2 separate regions of the Homo sapiens genome follow, and region 1 is linked to region 2. The links are contacts of gene promoters, found by promoter capture Hi-C in blood cells and fetal thymus (Javierre and others, 2016). All regions are on one chromosome and are shown on one strand. The core of a region is centred on a gene start or on the middle of the fragment in contact, and the rest is flanking DNA. Distances in the headings are between cores, read along the strand shown.

Evidence for each region. Contacts are between HindIII fragments. The CHiCAGO score rates a contact against its expected background, and 5 or more counts as called.
Region 1: a contact is called between the fragment with the promoter of SRD5A3 here and the fragment with the promoter of AASDH in region 2, in 1 of 17 cell types (total CD8 T cells). The highest score is 5.8, in total CD8 T cells.

What each region holds. Positions count from the first base shown.
Region 1 is chr4:55,344,848-55,347,547 of GRCh38, forward strand. It overlaps SRD5A3 (steroid 5 alpha-reductase 3), which reads left to right and starts at 1,395. Exons shown (of 5, transcript NM_024592.5): 1 at 1,395-1,710. The coding sequence starts at 1,490. RefSeq lists an enhancer at 1,116-1,876 and silencers at 1,328-1,497, 1,708-1,977. The HindIII fragment of the contact is 3,550 bases long and covers 351-2,700 here.
Region 2 is chr4:56,386,142-56,388,841 of GRCh38, forward strand. It overlaps AASDH (aminoadipate-semialdehyde dehydrogenase), which reads right to left and starts at 1,350. Exons shown (of 15, transcript NM_181806.4): 1 at 1,221-1,350. RefSeq lists enhancers at 768-1,275, 1,245-1,614, 1,276-1,782, 1,645-1,694. The HindIII fragment of the contact is 3,410 bases long and covers 60-2,700 here.

The sequences.
Region 1 (2,700 bases), core at 145-2,644, 1.0 Mb before region 2:
AAAAAAAAAAAAAAAAAAAAGCCAGGCGTGGTTGGGGGGGCACCTGTAGTCCCAGCTATTCGGGAGGCTGAGGTAGGAGAATGGTGTGAACCTGGGAGGCAGAGCTTGCAGTGAGCAGAGATCAGGCCACTGCACTCCAGCCTGGGCGACAAAGCGAGACTCCATCTCAAAAAAAAAAAAAAGAAAAGAAAGAAACAGTGAAAGGGTGACTCCCGCAAAAGAGATCCAGGATCACTCAATAAGGCCTCATTGTCCTAGCTAGAATGCCAATTTAACCATCCTTAATCACCTGGCTGTCAAAGGACGGGTAAAGCCTTAGGTGTCTTTTGCACAAAGAAGAAAACTTTAAAAGCTTGCTCATTTAACAGTCCAAAGTCCCACTAACCTACCCACCCTGATGTTTATTCAACACACATATCGGGTATCTCATTGGGGTAAGGGTGATGAGTTGGCTACCTCTCCCCTCTTCCACTTCTCACCCACCACCCAATCTCAAAAATGTAAGCTCCAAATAAGCAGTGACAATTATCTTGTAAACCCCTCTGTCCTCAGTATCCAAAATGATGCCTGTCATACAGTAGGCATACAATACTTCAGAATTAACATTTTAAAGACTTTTAAATACTTAAAAGAGCTAGATTTTCACTTATAGTAAATAAAATCAGTGTTGTTTAAAATCAGTGAGTCAATAAATAGCATTGTCACTACCTGAGATAAATGTTACAGGAAACAGCTGATGGAATTTAAAAACTTTGCTTCTAAGGATTGGAACCCTATTGGTAAGCGACTGCTGTTTTTTAAACACAGTTTTTACCACTATGATTTTTATTATTATGTGCAATTACTTGTCTACATGTTTACATTATACACATATCCAACACATTTCCAGCATCCTAACATAATTATTCATTTTTGGGTGTGATCTGCCTTCTTTATCCATATATACACACATTCATATTAATATAGTTGTTTGCAATCATAGCTATGTATTTTTATGGTTGGTTTTGTTTTTCACTTCACATATTGTTTCCTAAACAGCTTTCCCTGTTTCTACACTCGTCATAATAATTCTCAATGACTGCATGATATTCTAACATGTCAGTGTATCATAATTTAGCTAAATAAACTAAAATGCAACATGTAAGGTTTCCATTTTTTGCTTTGGAGATAATGTTGATAAGAGTGGCAGACACGTGGTCTCGTCTGTTTTGCGTCTTTGCTTCTGATGAATCATATTCTGGAGCTCCATCTAAGAATCCCCATGCCCAGATTAGGGACTGCGAGCGACCACCCAGCGCCAGCGCGACCAGGACCAAGGACCTCCGCGGCTGAGCGGCGAGTCCGGGAGGGGCTCTGCGCGTCCCCGCCCCGCGCCGCGTCACCGACGTCCCGCTAGGCTGAGACCGGTGCGCCGCGCGCTAGTGGCCGCTCTTCCGCGGGCTAGCGGGCGGTGGGGGCGCCAGCAGCGCGGAAGGCGGGCACGCGGGCCATGGCTCCCTGGGCGGAGGCCGAGCACTCGGCGCTGAACCCGCTGCGCGCGGTGTGGCTCACGCTGACCGCCGCCTTCCTGCTGACCCTACTGCTGCAGCTCCTGCCGCCCGGCCTGCTCCCGGGCTGCGCGATCTTCCAGGACCTGATCCGCTATGGGAAAACCAAGTGTGGGGAGCCGTCGCGCCCCGCCGCCTGCCGAGCCTTTGATGTCCCCAAGAGGTAACCGCGCCCCGGTCCCGAGCCGCGGTGGTCAAGGCGCTGAGAGTTCGGGGCGCCCCGGCTCGCGGGCAGCCAGCAGGGGGCAGCAGAGGCGGGACCCGGCCTGGGAGGCCCTGGCGGGTTCCCGGGCGCAGCACGGCGCTCCCTCGGCCTGGCCCCGGCCATGCCCCGGCTGCTGCGTGGCTCCGGGGAGCAGTGCCCGGGTGTCCGCGGACGCCGAGGGAGAGCGGAGCCGCTTGCACTCAGCTGGAGGAATGTGAACTGGTAGCCGCACGGAGCCTTTCCCTGTGGGAAATGGCAACGCATCCGAATTTAGGCCTGGTCATGCGAATTTAGGCGGCAAATTGAAGTGCCCCTTGCCCCAAATTCTCCTTTTTCCCGTACCCTGCACTCCAGTGGCTCATACTCTAACTTGAGGTCACCGGGAATCATTTGTGGAAATGAAGTTAGGCCGGCTCTTCGGCCTCGGCTTCCCCCGTTTCTCTTCCCAACCCTTGCAGTGGGGACAAAGGACTGAGTCGCCCTAACCTGCACCTTGGCAGGTGCCCCTGGGGAAGGTGGCCCAAGGTGCAGGTCATAGGCAGGCCCGTCCCGAAGCTCCATTTGACTTTCGAAAAATTCTGTAACCCAGTTCAGCGAAGGATTAAATCGTCAGGTTTTAAATAGAGACCTGTTATAATTTTCTTCTTCTCCTTTTTCCACTTTAAATTCAGGACATAGCTGGAAAGAGTTGGCCAAATACTATTCGAGATGGTAGAAATAGAACAGTGCCCCTTAAGATGCATCTTAGGCCGGGCGCAGTGGCTCACGCCTGTAATCCCAGCACTTTAGGAGGCTGAGGCAGGCGGATCGCTTGAGTTCAGGAGTTCGAGACCAGGCTGGGAAATATAGTGAGACTCCGTCTCTCCTGAAAATACAAAAAATTGGCAGGGCTTGGTGGCGTGTGCCTGTAGTGCCAGCTACTTGGAATGAAGGCAGGAAGATCATCTG
Region 2 (2,700 bases), core at 100-2,599:
ATTTTTAGTAGGCATTTCTATAAATATTAGCTCTTTTTAATGCACAAGATACAATTTTAAGCTTTCCTCAGACATACAATGATCATTATGTAAATATAAGGGAGGCTTTCTGCAGCAGGCGCTTAAATTATGAGGAATGAGTTCATTTCGCAACATACAGGTAGCGCAGAAGGGTACCTACACATCTATACGATAATTAAGATGTTTCTTTCCATTTTCCCAATGGTTGCTACAGACATTTAAGGTAAAATCCATTCTTCTTGTCTCAGGTTTTCATTTTCATTCATTGAATCACAAATAACATTCTCTGCAGTAGAGAATACTAAACTTATTAATGCCCAAATGTTTGAGACCTTAAAAAGGAAAAAAAGGCCGGGCGCGGTGGCTCACGCCTGTAATCCCAGCACTTTGGGAGGCCGAGGCGGGTGGATCATGAGGTCAGGAGATCGAGACCATCCTGGCTAACAAGGTGAAACCCCGTCTCTACTAAAAATACAAAAAATTAGCCGGGCGCGGTGGCGGGCGCCTGTAGTCCCAGCTACTCGGGAGGCTGAGGCAGGAGAATGGCGTCAACCCGGGAAGCGGAGCTTGCAGTGAGCCGAGATTGCGCCACTGCAGTCCGCAGTCCGGCCTGGGCGACAGAGCGAGACTCCGTCTCAAAAAAAAAAAAAAAAAAAAAAAGGAAAAAAAAAAGCAAACTCTGGTAAGCAGATTTTACATGTAAAAGGAATAAATTTACTTGCTACAACTGTAGAAGCTGCTATTTAGTCAACAAAGATCTTAAGAGTGTCAGCAAATTCAATTGCTATGGGGCCTCTCTCTAGGCCACTGGCTGTTTTAAAAATGGATAAATAATCTAGAAACTTTATTTTCCCAATTCCCCGGCTTCTAAATTTACGGTATGCAACGAGTAACAATGCAATTTACAGCTTCCTAAACATTTCTTCATTGCTCTTCGAAACCACTCTAGGGGGTAGCTGAGCGCGGAGCACACTTATTTCCATTTGAATGGAGGGGCGGAGGCTAGTGACGCAGGAGTGTACACACAGGTCAGGGTTAGTCTGCACCACACCAGCACGCCAGACCCCGATGTATCAAATCCGAGGTCAGGCAGTGGTCCTGAAGCTGAGCAAATGTATGTGGAAGCAGGCTCAGGCCTAGCGGCACTTCGCCTCCTTCACACAGACCCCCGCCGGACACCGCGCCCTGCCGCGACTCACTTAGCAAGTCTCGCGGATTAGGTTTGATCGCATTCGGCCCTTTCCCGGATAGCTCGTCGCGGATACTTCTCACAGCGAAGCAGCAGCTCCCAGAAGCCGTAAAGCTATCCCAGAGCGAGGCACCATACGTAAATCTTCCGCGTCGCTACGTGACGTCAGTGCGAGCGACCCCGGGCCGGCTGCGTGGAGCTGGCGCTGCCTCTCCTGAAGCCGAGGCGCTAACTTGAGTGAAGAGGTCTATAGGCTTTTTCACTTTTGGTTATCTGCTCAGGCGCTCCTTGGGGTCGCGCATGGTCTCGGACAGGGTTTGCAAGGACTTCGGAGCTAACCAGTTTGGAGCCATAACCCTTTCGTACTTGCCAAAAAACTCTGGGCAAGACTCTTGAATTTTGAGCCGCAGTATTCTCGTTCATAAGGTGAGAATAAAAACATCACCTAGGGTTGATGTGAAGAGAGATGAAATCATTGTGAAATAGGAGAGTTATTGCTTTCAACCAATGACATTTTCTGGAAACGTGCTGGAGATATGGCTGCAGCAGTGACGCCTGCAAACGACGTTCCTGTCATCATGATGCTGACATTTTAATTGGGAAGCAGATTGAAACGATAACTAAGGAATTTGACAGGAGCATTTAGTAGGACCTGTAAAGAAATTAAAGCAGGTCCGAGGTGGAGTTTTGTAAACTATATGCCTGAATAGAACTTTCTGTTTCCAAGGGAATTGTTACAGTTGGAGACATGTCAATTATTACAATAAGCGTCAAGGGCAATAACAGAGGTGTTTTAAAGCTACTGTCTGGTGGCAGAATAATCGGGATTTTTTTGTTTGGGGGGTTTTAGCCGGGGGAGGGACTGCGAAGACAGCTCTGCATCAAAACAGTACGTGAGAAAAAAGCATAGGACGCTCTCGCAGCCGTAGTTGTTGGTGACAAGAAACTGTGCTTCTAATCTAAGCAAAAAATATCTCCACATGCCAACTATACTTTTCCAAGATGTACCATGGACTACTCAAACTAACACAGCCTTATTTATGTATTTAGGTTGGAAGTGGGCAAAAGTGTATCTTGTCTATGTTTCTATGTTTCTACGTTGGGATGACACCATCATCCACCCAGCCAGACAGTTATCAACCTTCCCACTTTCTTAACCTCTTACATCCGATTAGACCCTATGTCCTCTAGTTCTCAGTCTTGAGACCAGCACCCAGCTGGCTACATCAGAATTGCCGGTGGTGATGTTTTAGAAGATTCCAAATTCCTGGACTCCATCCCCGGAGGTTCATCCCCTAGTTTTCTAGTGAGGGGCCTAGAACCTGCGTTTTTTAAGTGTCATGTTCATCGCCATTACTGCTACTTTAGTTCAGGTCTTCTTGGTCAGCTTTTTCCTAAAACGTTTTCAGTTTTGTTTGCCTCTGATTGACTCTGAATTGCTGCCAAAATGATGTTTTATTATTCCAGTATCATCATCCAACTCTCTGATA